3 separate regions of the Homo sapiens genome follow, and regions 1 and 3 are each linked to region 2. The links are contacts of gene promoters, found by promoter capture Hi-C in human tissues and cell types (Jung and others, 2019). All regions are on one chromosome and are shown on one strand. Each heading gives the region's core, a stretch centred on a gene start or on the middle of the fragment in contact. The rest is flanking DNA. Distances are from core to core; before and after follow the strand shown. Region 1 overlaps SYNPR (synaptoporin). Region 2 holds the start of C3orf49 (chromosome 3 open reading frame 49). Region 3 overlaps SYNPR (synaptoporin).

Region 1 (3,421 bases), core at 847-3,346, 360 kb after region 2:
ACCAATTACAATGTGTGAATTAAAAAAAAAATTTAGATTCAATAAACTATAAAAATATGAGATTAAGTGAAACATTTGGAAATGTGTAGATATTTGATGACATTGAATTATTGCCAATTTTTGTACGTGATATATTGTGGTATTTTTGTTTTAAATACCTTTGAGAGATACATAGCAATTTGTTTATGGGAGGAAAGATATATGCCTGGGGAGAATGTAAGGATGACAGTATAAAAGGAACAACATTGCCTGTGAGGTAATTATTTTTGGCTAGACAACAAAGAAGCAGAGGCTCATAATATTATTTTGTGTTTCTTTATATATGTTTGAAATTTTTCATTAAAATTTTTTAAAATTAAGATCAGATTATTAAGCAATCTATAAGTGAATATATATGTATAGACAAAATCCAATAGTTTTTTGTTCAATATATATAGTTTTCATGCTTTTTAAAGAATATTCAAAAATAGTATTAATCTAGATTCCCTAGAGGAACATTCCTTAAAGTAAGGAAATTTCACTCTCTTCTATTATTATACTATTGTAGGATGTAGAAGAAAATTTATTCTCTTTTCTTTAACAAAATTTTCTTTGTTAATAATCTTTTATTGATTGTGCTAAGGACCCATTTAGTTCTGCCTCATTATGGGAGAGTAGCTTTTTCTCATTATATTTTAATGAAATGAAGGATCACCATAGCCTAAAGGGCTTTATATTCCATGTAAAAGACATTATTTTTTAGGCAATAAGATGAAGATCCTCGCCATCTTTCAATAATGTCTTTCTATTGATTAAATCTAAGAGGCAATAAAATGTATCAAATTACTTAATGTTTAATATATTGGTTTTAGTTTCTGAGTACCAGTGATAAGTGGAGTTCACATGGAACACACTAATGAGCATAGACATAAGTATCCCATCAACTCCAGCACTGCAGAAGAGACTGCAGGGATGGAGCCATCTAGTGATTCTGTAACTAAAAGACAGAGTCACCTTTTTAAAATAATTTAGCTTTGGGCTCCCAAATTAAATGTATACTGCTTTTTAACACATCTAGCAAGGTTAAAATACTGTCAGAGACATCCTATTTGTTGATGGGAACCAAAGACAATGATGCAAAAATTAGTGACACAATTCTAAAAGAAATGATTTGCATGAGCTGGAGAAAACTGGAAGATGTGGGAAAAGAAATGTAAGTGGGAAGTGCCTTGCAAGTAGTAGTTGCCCAGAAAGTATGTGTCTGATGAAAACATGAGAGATAATTCTTTCTCTAAGAGATAAGAAGGAGGCATTGGATGGGGCTCCGAGAAGTTACGCTGAGTTGGAAAAAAGGGAAATTGAGGGTCTTATGCAAAAGGATCTTATTCTTAGTAAAGGAAGATGTGAAGATTAGGTATTTGAGGAAGTAGAAAAAAAGTGGAATACCTTCGGAAGAGGTGAAAATAAATTAAGTAAAAATGAAACAATTAAGAATTACAAAGAATGCAGGATGCAATTACATAATTTTCCTTGCCTGGTTGAAAGCCCTTTGAGGCAGGGACCATCCTTTGTTCATCTCTGCAACCCCCATACAGTGGGAGTGTTTGTAAATTAAATTCTTCAATGAGGGCCAGTAAGCCCAGAGCAAAACTCCAGTCAAATAGGCAGTAGAGGTAAGTTAAAAAGTAGGAAAAAAAATTAGAGAAAAAGTTCTTTGCAGAAAGTAAATAAAAATCAACATGACAGAACTAGCATCAGAGCAAACACAATGCACAACTCATAGCAAGCATTTAATATTAATTTGTTGAATTGGAAATGCATCCCTTCTTTACTCTAAACAGGGTGAAACTCACAAGTGTATATGAAAGTGCCTTAGTGGTACTTTGGTCTACTAGAAGTGGTTACGTAAGAGACAAAAGTAGAACTAAATGTTACGAAAAAAGGCATCTACATAAAATGTGAAGACATATAAGTGAAAGGAAGCAGAATCAACATTACAAAAAAATAGATAAATAAAATTTACAAAAATTGAATGACAAGATTCCAAGGTGTGAGATTATCTTGGAAGTTGGAATAAGATGAACTTGTTTGGGAGAAAATTTGATGGTGGTCATCTAGGAAAGTCCTGATGAGAGGAGATGAGGAGTATCTGTGGGCTGGTGTTTAAGCTTAGTTTCCCCTTTGGAAACCTCCTGAAAGCTATGGACTTACTCCATAGAAAATTTTTCATGTGTGCATATATTAAAAAATTGTCATGCGGACATGGTGGATTCAGATACTTCTCAGGATTCTCTAACAGACCAACCCAGAGATTCAAGGACCTCAGCCTAAGAACTTCTGCTCTGACAGAGAAGCACAACTTATAAGGTGACACAACTGGTGATGGACTATGGATGCCTCCTTTGAAAACCTATCCCTCACATTCATTCACAGCTACTTTTGGGGCAGCTACTATTTCCAAGGAACTTTCCAGATCTACTGTCCACTTAGGTTTCTGATTTCACACCTTCCACTTTTCTTGGATATTTACCATAAATCAGGTCCTTTAGAATCATGTCACCAGTTCCATTTTTGTTATTTCCATGTGCACCAAAACTGTATCTATTAAGAAAATCCAGGATCTGGATTTTTTGAGCCAGTCTGCTTCTTAGAAGGGAGCTGTCCTGAATGAAAATCACTTCATTGCAACGGTAAAATAAAATGTTCCACAGTAAAGTGACATAGCTGTACCTTTTTCCCTCGACTGTAAAAGAAAGTGACAGAATCCTTCTGAGAAACCCACTGGCACACATGAGACCTCAGTAACTATGGGTGGCATAGAATTTATTTCTAATGGAATAGCCTAGTCTCTGAGGACTGTGATTTGTAGTGGCCAAAACATCATATCAGTGGCAGCTGAATTGTGCATCTGCAGAGCAAAGGAGCCTGACAGGAACAGTGGAACCCAACATCCATTCACCACTCATTTCCCTGGTGGCCAGGGCCTGTATGTTCACACAAGCACCTTCCCCTTACAGGAAACTGAAAACAATGCTCAACAGGCTGGTTGAGGGCATCAAAATTTTATGGTGTTTTGACTTCCTTAGCAGAGATTGGTTGTAACTGCATATTATAATGGATGCACACTGAAGTATGCAAATAACAATTTTCCAGTCTAATGTTTTCATCTCTTCCCAGTCATAATAGATGAAGAGGATATCATCATTCCAAAGAGATAAATCTCAGCCCATTTTATATCAGTGTACAATTTAGGAGGGGCATCTTCCCATGACCTCTGTTATCAATGACTTTAGGAAGCTAGTACTCATGTCCTGGGAATAAAGTATAACTCAGCGACCTAAATTGGAGGTTAATGAATGTAAATTCACACCACTGACTTCAAGGTTTTATTTGATCTATGGCTCTTTTGGGGACAGTCTGTATCCAATTTGTTTTATCAGAG
Region 2 (3,158 bases), core at 184-2,683:
TTATGGGTAGGATTAATCTCCCGTAGACCCCTCTGAGACTCCTTTAATAATAATTTAATTTTTAAGTGATTCTACTACTATAAACATGTACACACATACACATACTGTGACACAGAACAATGCAAATACAGTTTCAGGAGATTCAGGAATTTTGAAGACCACCCATGTTAAAAGCCCAGTTCTAAGTGGTCTCAGAATCTCTAGAAGGTGTTTCCCATTCCCATCCTCCCCACTCTCATCCCCAATCTATCTAGAACATAATTAACAAAGGTGATTTAGCTCCAGAGCCTAGGAACACACTGCTGCAATTTCTGATATGAGCAGAACCCTCCCCTTCTTAAGTTTTTAAATATTTTTGTGTTGGTACTGAATTTATTTGGTTGTATTGCTTCCCCCGGAGTGCCTACTTTTCATTGAAAGTGGAAATCTCTGCAGTATTTTATTTTGTCCATGGAAGTTCACAAGCTTGGTCTTTGATGCTTCCAGGACTCATTAAAACACCTCACTTCTACATGTCTGAACTATAGCCCATGGACCTGGTAAGAGAGAAGCCCAAAGAAATTGGAAAATAAATCACCACACTGACTTTCCAAATTAAAATATATTATATTTTGGATGTTTCATACCTGTCTATATGGTTTTGTCATTGGCAAAAAAATAGCAAGTCTAAGGCAGTTTTAACGTTACATTAAACAATGTGTCCATAGTGAAATGTGATTAGTACATATTTCAGCAGCCCAAATTGCTGGGATAGGAGAAAGAAAGCACTGATCGTGGACCTATTTCGAAGAATGCACTAATGACTTTTCAAAATAATAGTATTTTCACGGGATGTGAGATGTCCAAAATTCTGATGCTGAAATATCAACATAGGATCAGAACTTATTTTAGTCTCCTATGCCACATTGAAACTTAATTTCGAGTGGAAAGGAAAGGTTTTCCCTGTTACAATTAAGATGTTTCTGATCATAAAATGAAGCTTACATTGTCACACTAGATTTCTTGATCCAACGCAGTACCCTCCCCGCCAATCCATCCAGAGTCCTCATTCCTAAATGCAATGCTTAAAAGGACATGCCACTATGCCAAACCCAAAGACTCTCATTTGACAGAAAAGGAAATGAATCTCTGTTACCTTTCTATCCCCTTCCTTTTGAATGAGCCATTTTTCTTCTTGAGTTGCTGGAATCTTCGGCACTGTCCAACTTTTCTGTAGGCAATCTTAAAGGGTTCTGGTAGATACAGCTGAGGTTGGGCCATTGCTCTCAACTTCACCTGTAGTAGCCGTTTTGGATTGTTTTAGTTCTTGAACTTACAGACTTCAATACAAAATCATCCAGTGACTGAATGTACTGTCAAGGTGTGGGCTATTCGGAATAAAATATGTAGGAAATTTTTAGAGTCTTTCCCTTATTCCCTTCCAGGTGTTAGAGACATTATTTGTGGGACTGGCCCTGTTTACAACTTCACAGAGGTCACCAGTGATGTATTTGACAGAGCTGTGTGAAATTCCATGGACCTTTGTGGAACACTTCACAGATTCTTGAACAAGGCAAATACAGAAATGATGATCTGATTGCCTCAATGCTGGCATTTGGATAGAAAAAAAAAATCAAACAACAACAACAACAACAAAAAACACCCACACACTAATTGACCACCACATTCAGAAGTGCGTATTTGAACTCTGAAGTGGTAGGGACCTATAGGAATACCAACGATACGCTGATTAACACAAGTTGAGCTTCTGTTAGATCTCTCAGTTACAGCTGGTGAATGTTCTCTGTGTCCTGTGGGACACATATGACAAGGCCAGTTGTTGTTTGGACATCTCAAAATGTACCCCAAGGGTGGTTTTCATTACATCTTGGAATTTTGCAGTGGTCTCTCAAAGTACATTGCTAAATTGAGGACCTGATCCACCCCTCCCTTCCAACATTGCCCCATTTATTTCGTGGTGAAGAGCGAATTCTGCCTGTGATGGAACTTCTCACCACAAGGTGGCAGCAGACACTAGGATTTATTCCTGTTACCCTCTCGCGGTTTGAGTTGTTCAGTCAAATAACTAGATGCTTAACAAGAAAAACTCCTCTAGAAAGGTTCTGGGAGTTACAAGAATTACTCTGCTTTCTGTGTTTGCATTAATCAATAATCTGGAGCATACTTCTCAAGCTTTCAAGTGCACACAAACTTCCTGGAGGTCTTTTTAAGATGCAGATTTCGATACAGTACATCTGGGCTGGGATCCAAGAATTTGCACTCCTAACAAACCCGCAGGTGACGCTGATGATGCCAGACTGCACTTGGAGTAGTGAGGGTCTTGTATGTTTCAGTACTGGGGAAAAGAGCTTTAAAATGGTCTAGAATGAAGTGTATAATGTTAAGGGGCTAAGAGAGTGGATTTGGGAATTATGCATGAGTTCTCATTTCTAGCTTAGCTATGTGACCTTGGCCAATTCATTTTAACCCACCCATGCTTGTTTTCTCATCCCTAAAGTGGGACAACTCATAGTGCCCAAGCCATAGTTTTATGGCAAAATTCAAGTGAAATAGAAATTCCGCTTCAGCAGGGAATGAGACCCAGGAATCCATATTCTAGGAGAGTGGGTGCAGATGTTCCTCTGTCCCTTATTTGAGAAACGCTGAAGTAGAGCATATCTAATATGCCTTGGCCAAATGGACATATGCTCCTCCCTGGTCTGTTTTTCCTCATCTGTTGGCATCCTCAGAGCACAATAAATAATAGGTGCTTGAATAAATGAATACATGAATATTTTCTTTAGCAACAGGGCAATATTTTTCATGCAATTATTGGCACTCCTGCCTTAATTCTGTTGTATTTCATCAATTATCTAGATGAATGAGATGAATTTTATGCTAGGAAAGACAGCTGTTTTTTATTTGTGCATGGGTGTCTATGTACATGTCTCTGTGTGTGCATGTCTGCATGTATGTGTGTATGTAATAGGCTGAAACACTTGCTGCTGTGGCATCTGTGACAAAACTTGTAGGTTCCCAAAGGAGTCCTGAAGCAGATGACAGAACTAGAAGGAGTGGGAAGGGGGTGGGGAAAGAGTTAGAGTATAGAGAGACATCAATTTTGAGCTGTGTCTGGATTTACATTCTAGATCTACCCCTTCCAAGCTTATGGGTCCTTG
Region 3 (3,120 bases), core at 234-2,733, 380 kb after region 2:
AAAGCAAATATAAGTTTGCTTAAATAGTTTCCTTACTATGTTCAAAGAAACCCAGCACATACTTAAACAGCTAAAGTAAGCATTTCAGTATCAACACAGCCTCTTTGGTTTAAACATACAAATTACAAGAAAGCAAAGTCAAGAAAAATAGAGATTATTACTAGAGACTTAAAAACTGATACTTGGAAAGAAAAGTGTACAATCCAAATGTGCCTATGGAGACACATACATGCACACACATATCCCCACAGCCAGCTGTAAATCAAGATAGCTGTAAACTTACCGGAGCAAATATCACCATACACATTTACAAAAGAATTGATAATCCAACTTCCCTCTCCTGAAAGAAAATAGAGGTTGTCTCATACTAAAAATAAAGCTTCTCTGTCCACAGCACCAGCCACTTGTCCCTCTTTTTATGAAGCAAAGGAGGAGAAGAAGAAAATCAATGCAGAGGGAAAGTGAGATGTTATACCAATCAGATAGCAGCTTCAGCCTCATTTGCAGAGAGATGGCAAAACGGTCATATTATTAGACAGTGACAACCCACAGCTGAGTACAGGAACCTGATACTCCCCTCTGGTGAACGCTGCCTGCTTGGTGGGGAGGTGGCTGCCACCATGGTGAGCTCCCACACTTGGCTCTTGGCTCACAACTGGAAGTGCAGGACTGCTTTGCACGAGCAGGCTGCATCACCAACAGAGGCACCATCTCCCCTTTACTCTGCCAGCCCCCTCCTCCTGCAAGCACAGTGCTTAAAAACAAACTAGGAGATTTTTTTAAAGCCAGAATTTTGTGTTTTAAGGGTATGGGGAAAAATGGTGGTTTTATAAAATCTTACGAATAGATTTGCATAGATTAAGTAAATGTTGTTATGTTTGTTAAATAAATTGCCCTCATTTTAATGTAAATGCATAGCTGTTATGCATAATCCCCATTTGGGAAACTCGTACACTGTCCATAAATAATCATTAAGGTGATGTACTGGAAGACAGGCTTTTAAGGCTCTGGCAACTGTAGAAGGGACAGATTACAACTTGGTTGCTCACTCGTCACAGGAGTGTTACTTAAAGACGTCTCCTGCAAAACCTCAAAATTAAAATGGTTTCAGAGGCTTAAGTGCGACATGGATCTGCTTTCTTCTTCAAATAAACCTCTGTAGGAAGGAGTTCAGCTCGACTACTTCGAAGGGCCGAAATCATAGCACCTTGAGGCAATGTGTGTTGGGGGCATTTGTATCAAATTCTTGGAGAGGCTGCCACAGGTGACATGTTCTCACACTGGCATCGTGGACAATGTTTCCCCAAGGCAGATACCGCAGCACAGGGAGAGGAAGTCTGTGTGCCTCTCCTTCCCGCCCCCTACTTTGGGTCCCCACTCGGTGCGGGAATGTTGAAATGCACATAGGCTGGCCACATTTTTTATAGGTATTAATTTGTTGTTAATTTGGAGTTGTCCAAAGTCTTTTTTTGAGGTCCCTCTCTCTGTCTCTCTCTCTCTCGCTTTCCTTCCTATCTCTGTCTCTTTGTATCTCTGTCTCCTTCTCTCTCTCTCTTTCATGCGTGCACACACACACACACACACACACTATCACTACCATATCATAGCCACCACCATCATCTCTCTTACTCCCTTTCTTCCTTTTCTTATACACACAGTAACAACTTGGTGGATAGGGGGAGGTTGGGGGACCAAACCAACCAACCAAAAAACCATAACGAGGAGTCAGGCAACTTGGGTTCTAGTCCTGGTCTCCCACTTACTAGTCATGTGGCCTGCGCCTGAGCCTTGGTTTCCCCTTTGTAAAATGGCTACACTTATGCCTCATAGAGCTGTGAGTGGGAAGGTGTGGGGAAGAAATGAACAACGGGCAAGGCAGTGCTTTCACCTACACTACACACCTGCAAACTGGGCTCAGGGAGTCCAGCTCCCTCTCTCCTCCATCTCTTTCGATCCGCTTGTTGCCTATGCCTGAGCTTTTGGGGTGCTTACCAATTCTTCAAACTGTACATGCCCCATGGCCCCTTTGAAATTCTGATAGGAACCTTTTCCTCCCCACTCCCCTGTGGCCACCCCTCACCTGCTTATTGACAAATCTCTGCACTTCAATGAGAGAAGTTACTCAGGGGAGTAAATTAAGCAAGTGAACACATCTGAAGCAGGGAAAAAAAGCCTTAGAATCACCCGGCATTTAAGTGAGCACTCAGTAAACATTTACAGAATAAATAAATGAAGGATTGACTGAAAGAATAGTGTCTCTGTGCTGAAGGCCACAGTTCCTCCAGGTGGCTGATAAGGGGCAGAGTCAGAGTAGGGTCAAAGAGGCAGCAGTTTCCAGCAATGCACCTGTAGGGTAGAACCATACTTAATTGTTTCTTCACGGAGCCCAGTGAGTAATTCTCATTGGCTCTGAATATTAAGAGTCCCATTGCAAGTAAAAGGAAAAAAGTTCTGTCTTCTACATAATAATAGTGAAGATTTCTTGAATATTTACTCCTTGCCAGATACTATTCTATGTGGGTGTTTTTGGTATATCATTTTATTTGAGCCTTACAAAACTACGAGTTACAATTTTTATTCCAGGGTATAGGTGAAAAAACCAAGACCCAAAGAGTTAAGTAACTTATCTGAAAGTACAGAGTCAATACCTGGTAAAGCTAAAATTTGAGCCTAATTGTATGCCATTGTCTAAGCTATTAACCACTCTGCTTTGGATGCAACGTGATGGCACTTATACTTTTGTTTATTCAGTGTACAGGGTATGACAAATCCACATTTGGATGCATGGACCCTGCAGTAACTTCTCGGCTGTCCCCATTATGCAGATTTGCACCAGAGATTGGAACTTGCTGGTGTAGAAAGAGCCCATGAAATCCACGCTCAGGCCCTGCTGGTTTCTGTATGGCCTTGGGCACTTTAACATTTGGGAAGATAGGAGGTATGAGGCTCAGTCTTGGGTTTGCTAGCGGTTTGCTCTGTGACCCTGGCTGTGTCCCAGAATTTGTCCACGTCTCTGTTTTTCTCAAGTTTAAATTGAAGGGTTTCTACTGAATTATCTCTAAAGGGCTTTCTGGGTCAACTTTCACTAAATAAGGTTCTAAGGCTAATAGGCAGATTCTA

Evidence for each region. Contacts are between HindIII fragments. The study calls those that stand out against the background at their distance.
Region 1: a contact is called between a fragment that was not itself captured here and the fragment with the promoter of C3orf49 in region 2, in 2 of the 25 tissues and cell types used here (H1 embryonic stem cells and dorsolateral prefrontal cortex).
Region 3: a fragment that was not itself captured here is called in contact with the fragment with the promoter of C3orf49 in region 2 in 2 of the 25 tissues and cell types used here (H1 embryonic stem cells and dorsolateral prefrontal cortex).

What each region holds. Positions count from the first base shown.
Region 1 is chr3:63,462,460-63,465,880 of GRCh38, reverse strand. The region is part of intron 2 of SYNPR (synaptoporin); the gene reads right to left. All of the region lies in intron 1 of SYNPR-AS1 (SYNPR antisense RNA 1), which reads left to right. Among named protein-coding and RNA genes, the nearest start is that of SYNPR-AS1, 86 kb to the left of the region's middle. The HindIII fragment of the contact is 6,778 bases long and covers 1-3,421 here.
Region 2 is chr3:63,817,574-63,820,731 of GRCh38, reverse strand. It overlaps C3orf49 (chromosome 3 open reading frame 49), which reads right to left and starts at 1,433. Exons shown (of 7, transcript NM_001355236.2): 1 at 1,136-1,433. The coding sequence starts at 1,260. RefSeq lists a silencer at 1,967-2,086. The HindIII fragment of the contact is 1,936 bases long and covers 723-2,658 here.
Region 3 is chr3:63,440,633-63,443,752 of GRCh38, reverse strand. The region is part of intron 2 of SYNPR (synaptoporin); the gene reads right to left. The region is part of intron 2 of SYNPR-AS1 (SYNPR antisense RNA 1); the gene reads left to right. Among named protein-coding and RNA genes, the nearest start is that of SYNPR-AS1, 110 kb to the left of the region's middle. The HindIII fragment of the contact is 5,814 bases long and covers 1-3,120 here.